4 separate regions of the Homo sapiens genome follow, and regions 1, 3 and 4 are each linked to region 2. Evidence: promoter capture Hi-C in 16 types of primary human blood cells and fetal thymus (Javierre and others, 2016). All regions are on one chromosome and are shown on one strand. Each heading gives the region's core, a stretch centred on a gene start or on the middle of the fragment in contact. The rest is flanking DNA. Distances are from core to core; before and after follow the strand shown. Region 1 overlaps ALG8 (ALG8 alpha-1,3-glucosyltransferase). Region 2 holds the start of NARS2-AS1 (NARS2 antisense RNA 1). Region 3 overlaps GAB2 (GRB2 associated binding protein 2). Region 4 overlaps USP35 (ubiquitin specific peptidase 35).

Region 1 (2,760 bases), core at 1-2,500, 420 kb before region 2:
TGTTGAAAAGAGAAATGAAACTGATTAAACAGTCATCAATCTTTTTCAAATTCAAAAAGAGAACTAGGGAACTCTCTATGGTATAGTGTGTAGAAAGTTATGGGGTCTGGGTTCTAGTAAGTAAGTGGTTATATGCTCACCACAATGTAAGTTCACAGAACCTTCTTTTGGTCTCACTTTGTCCACTGTCCAGTGGGACAATATACATAAAAATACTCTGAATACCCGTCCATACTATTATAATAACAGAAGAATTTACAAGCTACAAAGCAGAACACAGACTGCAGCTTATCCATGTCTACTAGGGTGAAGGGGAGAGCTGGGAAACTACAAAAGATGTGACGCGTTTCAGTTTTAGTAAGAATTAAAATTAATTAGTTGATTTCAGGGCAGGGAAGAAGAGGAAGAAAGAAAACATCTGAACATCTGTTAAATTCTATGCACTTTAGAATGTCTGCTGTCCATGTAAGACTGCAAAATTATTGATTTTGTTACAAATACATTTTATCAAGTAAGTAAACTTACAAGTACAGAATACACAAATAATGAAGATCAATTCTGTGTTTGTGTATGTGTAATGTACAGTTAAACATATACATGTATATATATATACATATTTGAATGTGCACAAAAATGTCTGAAAGAATACTACCTTATCGGGCCAAGAGCGGTGGCTCATGCCTTTAATCCCAGCACGTTGGGAGGCTGAGGCAGGTGGATCACCTGAGGTCAGAAGTTCGAGTCCAGCCTGACCAACATGTTGAAACCCTGTCTCTACTAAAAATACAAAAATTAGCCAGGCATGGTGGCATGTGCCTGTAATCCCACCTACTCAGGAGGCTGAGACAGGAGAATCGCTTGAATCCAGGAGGTGGAGGTTGCAGTGAGCCGAGATCACGCCACTGCATTCCAGCCTGGGCGACACAGTGAGACTCCATCTTAAACAAAAACAAAAAAAAAAAAGGAATACTGCCCTATCTTTGGGGAGTCACGTTGGGTAAGGAGTAAGAAAAAAGTAGCTTTTACTTATTTTACATATTCCTGGCTTTATTAGGTTTTCTAAACACCAACAAAGAACATGTATTAATTGAAAAAAAAAAAAAAAAAGGCTTACCAAGGCCAGGAAAGGACCCAATGAAAGAGCAGAAACTAAGAAAACAACCAGTCCCAGGGAAATAACACGAACAAAGCTGAAACTCTTCCATCGAATAGACCCATCTACAGAAAAGGAACATTATCAGTAACCAGGAAGATGGAAAGGAACATTAACCATAACCTATATCATGTGCTAAAACTAGAAGTATCCCACAATAGTATACCAATCTATTCATGATGTGGCAAGAGCAGAGAAAAGCGAGAATGGGTAAAGGGCTTACAGGATTAGCAGCTGAGATATCTGCTGTGCTTCATAAAACCTTCTTATCAAGCAAGCCACCAAGTCAACACAGTAAGGGAAAAATCGAAAATGTTTTTGCTATTATTACCAAAACTTGCCTGGTTTATTTGCAGTGAAACAGTAGGATCGCAGCAGATATACACCATAAGCTGGTGCTACATAGAGGTAGATATGCTTGAAATGTAGGAGAACAGCAAAGAGAAATGCTCCTTCCATATGCCTTTTCTAGGAGATTTAAAAGGGAAATATCACTTTAAAATTCAGGGTAAATGAAATGCAATAATGTGGTATTCTAGATTGAATCCTGGAACAGAACAAGGACATTAAAGGAAAAACGGGTGAAATTCAAATGCATCAATATTGCTTTCTTAGTCTTGATGAATGTACCATGGTTATGTAAGGTGGTAATGGGGGAAAATGGGTGAGGGATATATAGGAACTCTCTGTACTATTTCTACAACTTTTCTGGAAAGCTAAAATTATCCTACAAAAAGGTTATTTAAAAAACTAAAATTAGGCTAAGTGTGGTGACTCACACCTGCAATCCCAGCACTTTGGTAAGCCGACGTGGAAGGATTGCTTGACCCCAGGAGTTCAAGACCAGCCTGGACAAAATAGGGAGGCCCTGTCTCTACAAAAAAATAAAAAATAAAAAAAATTAGCTAGGCGTGATGGCTTGCACCTGTAGCACCAGCTACTCTGGAGGCTGAGGTGAGAGAATCTGCTTTAGCCCAGGAGGTGGAGGCTGCAATGAGCCATGATGACGACACTGCACTCCAACTTGGGTGACAGAGTGAGACCCTGTCTCCAAAATGAATAAATAAATAACAAAAATAAACAATACCTACTTTTTTAAATTTTTATTTTATTTTATTTTATTTGAGATGGAGTCTCCCTCTGTCTTACCCAGGCTGAAGTGCAGTGGCACAATCCTGACTCACTGCAGCCTCCGCCTCCTCGGTTCAAGCAATTCTCCTGTCTCAGCCTCCCGAGTAGCTGGGACTACAGGCGTGTGCCAACACACCCGGCTAATTTTTGTATTTTTTAGTAGAGACAGGGTTTCACCATGTTGGCCAGGCTGGTCTCAAACTCCTGACCTCAGGTGATCCACCTGCCTCGGCCTCCCAAAGTGCTGGGATTACAGGCGTGAACCGCCATGCTTGGCCCAAGGTAAATATTCTATAACCAGTATAAGGAAAACATAGGCAAGTGATTCCAGCTAGCTTTTTTTTTGAGACGGAGTTTTGTTCTTGTTGCCCAGGCTGGAGTGCAATGGCACGGTCTCGTTTACTGCAACCTCCACTTTCCGGGTTCAAGTAATTCTCCTGCCTCAGCCTCCCAAGTAGCTGGGATTACAAGTGCCC
Region 2 (2,700 bases), core at 176-2,675:
AATGAAAACATGCTAAGTGAAAGAAGACAGACTTAAAAGGCTATGTATGATTACATTTATATGAAACATACAGAATAGGTAAATCCATAGAGACAGATGGATGAGAGTCATGGTTTGTGTAGAGGGGAAAATGGGATGTAACTACTAAATGGGCACAGGGTTTTCTTCTGGGGTGGTAAAAATGTTTGGAACTTAACAGAGGTGGCAGTTGTAAAATACTATGAATGTACTAAATGCCACTGAAATGTACCTTTTAAAATGCTTAATTTTATGACATAAATTTCACCTCAATTCTTGAAAGTAATTATTGAATCTTAGTAGCTTCAAAAACTACCAACCTAGGATTGCAAATTTAAGATTTAGGATTGTAATCTTAAATTTGTAATCTTACGTACTTATGGTAGTGATAAAGAAACAATACAATATATGAATTAAACACCCAACTTTGTGACTTTATCAGTGGGGAAGGATTTCTTTAACAAAAGCTCCAAATTGCCAACGATAAAAGGAAAAACTGATGAATTTATATATGTTAAAATTAAGAATTTCTATTTAATAAAGGAAGATATAGGCAAAGTTAACAGACAAATGACAGATTATGAATGAAATATTTGCAACATCTAAAACCGCCAAGTGATTAATGGACAGAATATATAAGGAACTCCTGCCAAGAAAACAAAAAAAGAGAAAATAATCTGCTCCCCAAATGAGAAAGAAGATATACAGAAATGAAGACTCAAATGGCTAATGTGAAAATAATTTAAATGAAAGCTGCTGAAACTTTAAATTACTCTGAGCCTTGAATAAAATGTGATTGATTGTAAGACCTAGCTCATACGGGCAAGTCACTACAACTTTTGTTTCTTCCTATTACAGATTAACCTTCTTTCTTATTTTTCTTGCCCTGTAAAACGTTGTGAAAGATTAAATGGTGCCCCTTACCTCTTAGTTACTAATTCTTTGTTATAGATTAACATCCTTCCTTTTTCATGTACCCAGCTCAGACCAGATGGCGAAAGGCCCCATGACTACCAAATTGATAGGGATGCAATTTTAAATATATCTTTCCTGAAAAAGAATAAGCTGTAACCAATCAAACTGCTGTAACTCATAAATCAGCATTGTATTAAAAATGTGGTAATACTTGTAAACTTCTTTGCTTCTACTTATATAAGTGAAGCCTCAGCTTCTCCACTTCTCAGCAATGACCCAACTACTCTGGAGTCTTGTTTTTTCTGGGTGGCCAGTCTCAAATTTTGCACTTGAACAAACTCTTTTAAAATTGGATTCTGGGCCTCTTGATTATTTCAGGGTGACATTTTGGTGAACCAGATGGGACCCAAATTAGGCCTTCATTGACTCCTGCTGTTTTGCCAACAGCTGGAGCCCCAGCACCAGCATGGACCGTTGCATCCAACTGACCTCGCTGAAGACTGCAGAAGCCCTTGGTCAGACTACTCTCAAGGTTGAATCTCCCTGGCTTGACTGAGATTCAGACTTTATGGAACCTGATTCAACAACTGATGAGACTGGAATTGAAGCACTACTTTAAGGTAGGCGTTTAGTTTGTTATTCTCTTATTCCATTATTTGTGTATATTTGTGATTTTTTCACTTTTCTCTGAGATTAAAAAGTCTTGCTTGTCTTATTCACTACAGTTTGTAACCTTTTCTCTCATTTGAAATTTTATCATGGAGAAAGCAGTTTCTCTTTGAAAAGAGGAAGTGAATGTCTACAGCTTAGGCAAATTTTCTTAAACTGGCCAGATCTAAAGCTCCATTCAATTTGGCACATTTAAAATTTCCTTTTGAGTGACCAAAGTTTATAAAAGACTTTATGAGCACAAGAAAAGTCCCAAAGACAAGGGGAACTGTACCTCCTGGCTGAAAGGCACCTTAGGCAACCAAGGAGTCTCCCAGGAGTGTCAGAGCATATCACTCATAACATGTAACAGTCCCACAGGATTTGGACAAATACATACTGACATGTATCCACCACTACAGTATCATACAGAATAGTTTCACTGCCCTAAAAATATGTGCTCCACCTAGTTATCCCTCCCTTTCCCCTAACCCCTGGAAACCATGATCTTTTTACTTTCTCCATAGTTTTGTCTTTTCCAGAATGTCACACAGTTTAAATCATACAATATGTAGCCTTTTCAGATTGGTCTCTTTGACTTAGTAATTTGCATTTAAAGTTTCTCCAGGTATTTTCATAGCTTGATAGCTCATTTTTTTTCAGTGCTGAATAATATTTTACTGTCTGGATGTAACAGATACAGTTTATTTCTCCATTTACCTAATAAAAGGCATCTTGGTTGCTTCCAAGTTTTGGCAATTATGAATAAAGCTGCTTTGTAAACATCCATGTGCACGTTTTTGTGTGGATATAAGTTTTCCACTCCTTTGGGTAAATACCAAGGAGCAGAACTGCTGGTTCTTATGGTTGGAGTATATCTAGTTTTGCAAGAAACTGCCAAACTATACTGCAAAGTGGCTGTTAAATCTGCTGCTCCACATCCTTGTCAGCATTTGGTGTTGTCAGTGTTATGGATGTTGGCCGCTCAATAGGTACATAGTGGTACTGACTGGCTTTTTAGTGTGCTTTGTGCATCATTTTCTACGGATCACATGGTTCATACACTACTACCTTCAGCCATTACACTGAGTAGCAGTTATTTTTTTTAGGAATCTATGA
Region 3 (2,805 bases), core at 90-2,589, 290 kb before region 2:
CTTATGATCCAGCAATCCCATTACTGGGTATATATCTGAAGGAAAGGAAATCAGTATGTTAAAGAGCTATTTGCACCCCTATGTTTATTGCATCATTAGTCACGATAGCCAAGATAATGGAATCAACCTAAGTGGTCATCAACAGATAAATGGATAAAGAAAATGTAGTATGAGTCCATGTATATGAGGCATCTAGAGAAGTCAGACTCACACAGACAGAAAGTAGAATGGTGGTTTTCAGGGCCTGAGGGAAGGGGAAATGGGGAGTTGTTGAATGGTTAGAATTTCAGTTTGGTAAGATGAAAAGATTTCTGGAGATTGATTATATAACAATATGAATGTACTTTACTGAACTGTGCACTTAAAAATGGTTAAGATGATATATTTATGCTATGTATTTACTACAATTTTTGAAAAGAAAAAATCATTCAGAGGAAGGAAAATACATATAGAATAATAAAAATTAAAATAACTGCTGATCTCTCATCAGAAACAATGAAGGTCAGAAGACTAGAATGGTATCCTTTAAATGCTGAAAGAAAACAGAACTGTCATTCTGGAATTCTATACCTAGCAAAATCTCTCTCAAAACTGAAGGTGAAATTAAGAAATTTCCAGATAAATGAAAGCTGGGAAAATTTCTCACCAGGCCACTCACATGGCAAGAAATGGCAAAGGGAGCTCTTCATACTAAAGAGTAAGAAAACCAGGTGAAAACCTCACTAGACATTGTTTGAGTTTTGCTTCTAACACTTATACATATTTTAAAGAAGTTAAAACGGAAAAATAATCTTTCACAGTTATGCAGGGATTTACTATTTCTGTTGCTCTTCCTTCATTCCTGAAAATTCAAGTTTCCTTCTAGTACCATCTTGCTTCAGCCTGAGGAAATTTCTTATCAGTTTTTAAAAGCAGATCTCTTGGAAATGCTCTTATTTTTCCTTTATCTGAGAACGTCTTAATTTTGTTTACATTCCCAAAGGATACTTTTGCCGAATATAAACTCCTTGGTTGGCAGAGGGTTTTTTTATTTTCTTTTTTTCTTTTTTTTTTTTGAGACGGAGTTTTGCTCTTCTCGCCCAGGCTGGAGTGCAATGGCGCAACCTCCGCCTCCAGGGTTCAAGCGATTCTCCTGCCTCAGCCTCCCAAGTAGCTGGGATTACAGGCGCCCACCACCATGCCTGGCTAATTTTTTTGTATTTTTAGTAGAGACGGGGTTTCACCATGTTGGCCAGGCTGGTCTCGAACTCCTGACCTCAGATGACTCACCTGCCTCGGGCTCCCAAAGTGCTGGGATTACAGGTGTGAGCCACAGTGTCCGGTGGCAGAGGGTTTTTTCTTTCCATTAGTTTCAAGTGTGTTTTCCTTTATTACATGGAATGTTGTTTTCACAGGAGCTTTGAAATCTGTGTCTGATAATTCCAACATCTGGGTTATTTTGAGGTTTGTACCTGTGACTTCCATTGAGAATGGGTTATATTTTTCTGGTTTTCAATATGCTGAGACATTTTGGATTACAGATCCTGAATGCTGTGAACATGATGTTGTGTAGATGCTGGGTTCTGTTATAATCCCATGGAGAAGTGCTATTTTTTTGTTTGTTTGTTTTGAGACAGGGTCTCACTCAGTTGCCCAGGCTGGAGTGCAGTGGCGTGATCTCGGCCCACTGCAACCTCCACCTCCTGGCTTCAAGCGATTCTCCTGCCTCAGCCACCTGAGTAGCTGGGATTACAGGGGCCCACTACCAAGCCCAGCTAATTTTTGTATTTTTAGTAGAGATGGGGTTTCACCATGTTGGCCAGTCTGATCTTCAACTCCTGACCTCAGGTGATCTGCCCACCTCAGCCTCCCAAAGTGCTAGAATTATAGGCGTGAGCCACCGCACCCGGCCGAGAAGTGATATTTTTATAGGAAATCAACCTGGTTAGGCTCAGACTGCAAGTTCTGTCTCTCCTCCTGTGTATGGTAGTTCAAATCTTCTTTCAGTTCACATAGGCTTTGTTGCACTCGATTCGGTTTGTCCCACACATGTGTAGCCCAAGGTGATCCTAAGACTCACATAGTTTCATTCCCAGAGTTAGAAGATCCCTTCTCCAGCTCTCTTCATTCTGGAATATACTAGCTCCTTCCAGCCCCAATGGGGCTCCTCTTCTGGTTCCCCTACTCAGAAAGATGGGGTTTTTTATGACATTTTAGCCATTTGCACTGTGCTACTTTGTGATGGGGCCCAACCTGGAGGCAAATGCATGAAAGACAAAAAGTTCATCTCTGTGTAGTCACTTCTACAAGTTCTTCTCCTCTTTACAATCTATCTCCTTTTATTTATTTTTCAGAGTCTTTGGGTATTGCACTTTGGATTTTGTCCAGAGTTTTTAGTTGTAATCAGTGGGAAGGAAAGCCTGTGGTGGCTTCCACCACCATAGTGGAACTGGAACTACCCAATTCTTTTTCGGTTTCTACATCCATCCTAAAATCCACCATCTCTTCACCTATTATATCCTTTACCCACAATAGATTAAAAAATTAACATAATTATTTTAAAGTCTTGTAGGCTGGGTCCAAAATATGGGTTTATTTTGATCTCTTTCTAGATACTGAGTTCTCTCAACTATGGGTTAATGTATACGGTTTCTTCATATGTCTGGCATTTTCTCATTGTATACTGAATATTCTCGACGATATATTATTGGAACATCATAGGAAAAGCCATGTAAACTGAATTTCACTTCTTTCAAGAGTCAGATCTCTTGCAGTTTCTGCCTTTTTTATTGCTCTTCAGGGCCTTAAAAAAGTTATTTTTTAATA
Region 4 (2,781 bases), core at 227-2,726, 330 kb before region 2:
TTCAGTTACTGACAGCGACCCTGGACAATTATTTTCTCTGTCTGAATCTTCATTTTTTTTTTAATCTATAAAATGGGAATTATGCCACCTTAAGGCAGTCCTGACCTGAAAGACCATGGAGGCAGCCCATATGTCAACTGAAGGGGTTTGGAAGCAGGGGGCTGTTCACACACACCCCAGAACATCTGTGGGGGGGTGTGCCTGGGAGGCCTTGGGGTTGGCTGTATCTGAGAAGGCCTCCCAGAAGAGGTGGTAGTTTTTTGAGCTGACCCTGGTGCCCACCATCCTGCCTGCCTGCTTATTCCCTCCTCAGGACCTCCATGTTCCCAATGAGGACCGCATCAAGCAGCTGCTGGGGCAGGATGCCTGGACTTCGCAGAAGAGCGAGCTGGCGGGTTTCTATCCCCGGCTCATGGCCAAGTCAGACACGGGCAAGATTGGTCTCATCAACCTGGGCAACACATGCTATGTCAACAGCATCCTTCAGGCCTTATTCATGGCGTCTGAGTAGGTGCTGCTTTGGAATTCCCTGTCTGCCCTTGCTTCTCTCCTCTGGGCTCCCTGATGACAGGTGGAAAGGTGTCCGGGGTGGGGGTTGGAGAGGGTGGGCCTTGCTTTGCATTGCCAGCATGATTCCCTGAGGTCTGTGGGGACAGAGAGCCTCAGGCCATTGCCAAGGCAGGTCAGGACTGGATGGGAACTCAAGAAGGGGCTTAAGGGGCTGGGCAGCCCTGGGAAGTGGGGTCTGCTCTGGGTTGGCTGACATCACTGACTTTTCTTCTAGAGTCTGTGGGGGTGGATTTTGTCTTCCAGAGTAGAACTGCCACCCATCCTGGTATTAGACATCTCTCTCTTTTAAAATGAAACAAACACAATCTTTATAGTCTATGGCCACCTATCTACCTTATGGCTTACTTAAAAGATCAAAGTTTCAGCTTTGATTCAGTGAAAATAAGCTTTGATTCTGGCTTATCGTATGTCCTCAAGTCAGTTTCTTTTCTCTGAGCGTCAGGTTCAGTGGGAGGAGATTGGAGCTGATCTCCAAGTCTTTCTAAGGTGCTGCTGGTGCACGTTCTTCTCAAAACGCCTAGTGAAGGACTAGTTTTGTTTTTCTTTTCTAATTCCAGTCTGCTGCAGAATATTACTTTTGTAAAATATAACAAAACGACTTACTAGAAAAACGGTCACGTGCTTGTATGGTGGTTGTGATGTTAAAATGCTGTGTATGTTTCTAAGTGCTCGCTCAGCTTCTGAACTTACCTTGTTCTGAGACCCAGAGCTGCTTGTGAGAACAGGAGATAAGCTGGGGCCTGGGAATTGGCTTGCTCCAGAGAATGTTCGTGTAGGGAGGGGAGCTATCTCCTATAGGATCAGACCCTTCCCACTAGGAGCCAGTCTACCCATCCCTAAAGGGTCCTCTTCGTTTAGCGTATTCCTCACATTGACCTCTGCCTCCCTCATTGGAAGGCAGGGGAACAGCTTGAGATTGCTCTAGGGGCAGGGGCCAGGGCCCTGACAGGGGCTGTAGGAGTCGATTGGAGGGCCCAGGTCAGAGCAGAGTCTGCTGCTCTGGAGGTGGATGAATGCCTTTCCCCAGGGAAGCAGCTAATAAGGGTGTGCGAGGGGCTGCTGCGGCTGGGATGATATTGGCATGGATCCTGTGGCATGTCCTAACCCTAGAATCCTGGGACCACAGGACCTTAGGACGTTTGAATCTTTAAGTCCTGAACGTAGGTCTCAGAGCTGGAAGGGGCTACAAGGGTCACCTTTGTACCCTTCATTGTCTAAAACATGTCTATTGTTGTGTTCCTGACCTCAGATACCCCAGGCTGAGTTGTTCACCTGCTCCTCCTCCCCAGCCCCTGGCTTCTGGCTCCGTCTTGGGGCAGAAATGTCTGTTCTGCCTTTGGCCTAGAGGCTCTGGGCTGCCTGTGACATGGGTGACTAGAGACTCCTTGGGGGCCCATGGCTTACCCTGGGTGCCCCTGCTTTGTTTTGAAGCTTCAGACATTGTGTGCTCCGCTTGACTGAGAACAACTCACAGCCCCTGATGACCAAGCTGCAGTGGCTCTTTGGCTTCCTAGAACACAGCCAGGTGAGTGTAGGGGCAGTCAGAGGGGGGTGGAGAGGCAGCTCTGGTCAGGCCCCGACATGGACACCTTTCCCTTCCCCAGGACCTGCCTGCATCTGGCTGTCATCTCCCATGTCAGTTGCTGAGCCCCTGGCCGGGCTGGCATATGGAACTGATTTAGTGCCCTGCTGGGGCAGGAGAAGGCGGGCCCCCTTGAGCCCTGTTCCGTGTTGTGCTGCCCAATCTTTCCCTTTGGCAATTCAGTCCATCCATCGCATTATGGTGTTGCCATAGTCCATTTTATGCTGCTAAAACCAAATACTCGAGGCTTGGTGATTTATGAAGAAATTTATTTCTCAGTTTTGGAAGCTGGGAGGCCCAAGATCGAGGGGCTGTGTCTGGTGACGGCCTTCTTGCTGCATTATAATGTGGGTAGAAGGCATCACAGGGTGTGAGAGCATGCATGAGAGAAGGGAAAGCGGGATGAACTCACCCTTTTATCAGGAACCTGCTCCTGTCTCCATTTGTGGCTGCTGGGGAAAGCAAACGGCCTGTGATAAGGAAATAATACATTCCTGAGGGCAGAGTGCTCAGGACCTCATCCTCTCTTGAAGGTCCCATCTCTTAACACTGCTGCACTGGGGATTATGTTTCCAACACATGCTTTTTGGAGGACACAGTCACACCACAGCATGTTGCTTCATTCTGCT

The links. Contacts are between HindIII fragments. The CHiCAGO score rates a contact against its expected background, and 5 or more counts as called.
Region 1: a fragment that was not itself captured here is called in contact with the fragment with the promoter of NARS2-AS1 in region 2 in 1 of 17 cell types (naive CD4 T cells); the score reaches 5.0 in naive CD4 T cells.
Region 3: a fragment that was not itself captured here is called in contact with the fragment with the promoter of NARS2-AS1 in region 2 in 1 of 17 cell types (M2 macrophages); the score reaches 5.1 in M2 macrophages.
Region 4: a contact is called between a fragment that was not itself captured here and the fragment with the promoter of NARS2-AS1 in region 2, in 1 of 17 cell types (monocytes). The highest score is 5.9, in monocytes.

What each region holds. Positions count from the first base shown.
Region 1 is chr11:78,112,772-78,115,531 of GRCh38, forward strand. It overlaps ALG8 (ALG8 alpha-1,3-glucosyltransferase), which reads right to left. Exons shown (of 13, transcript NM_024079.5): 6 at 1,495-1,621; 7 at 1,115-1,218. Among named protein-coding and RNA genes, the nearest start is that of ALG8, 25 kb to the right of the region's middle. The HindIII fragment of the contact is 6,042 bases long and covers 1-2,760 here.
Region 2 is chr11:78,531,751-78,534,450 of GRCh38, forward strand. It overlaps NARS2-AS1 (NARS2 antisense RNA 1), which reads left to right and starts at 1,426. Exons shown (of 4, transcript NR_120566.1): 1 at 1,426-1,553. The region is part of intron 5 of NARS2 (asparaginyl-tRNA synthetase 2, mitochondrial); the gene reads right to left. The HindIII fragment of the contact is 6,934 bases long and covers 1-2,700 here.
Region 3 is chr11:78,244,908-78,247,712 of GRCh38, forward strand. The region is part of intron 3 of GAB2 (GRB2 associated binding protein 2); the gene reads right to left. Among named protein-coding and RNA genes, the nearest start is that of USP35, 57 kb to the left of the region's middle. The HindIII fragment of the contact is 3,122 bases long and covers 1-2,805 here.
Region 4 is chr11:78,205,529-78,208,309 of GRCh38, forward strand. It overlaps USP35 (ubiquitin specific peptidase 35), which reads left to right. Exons shown (of 11, transcript NM_020798.4): 7 at 314-507; 8 at 2,002-2,095. Among named protein-coding and RNA genes, the nearest start is that of USP35, 18 kb to the left of the region's middle. The HindIII fragment of the contact is 1,045 bases long and covers 955-1,999 here.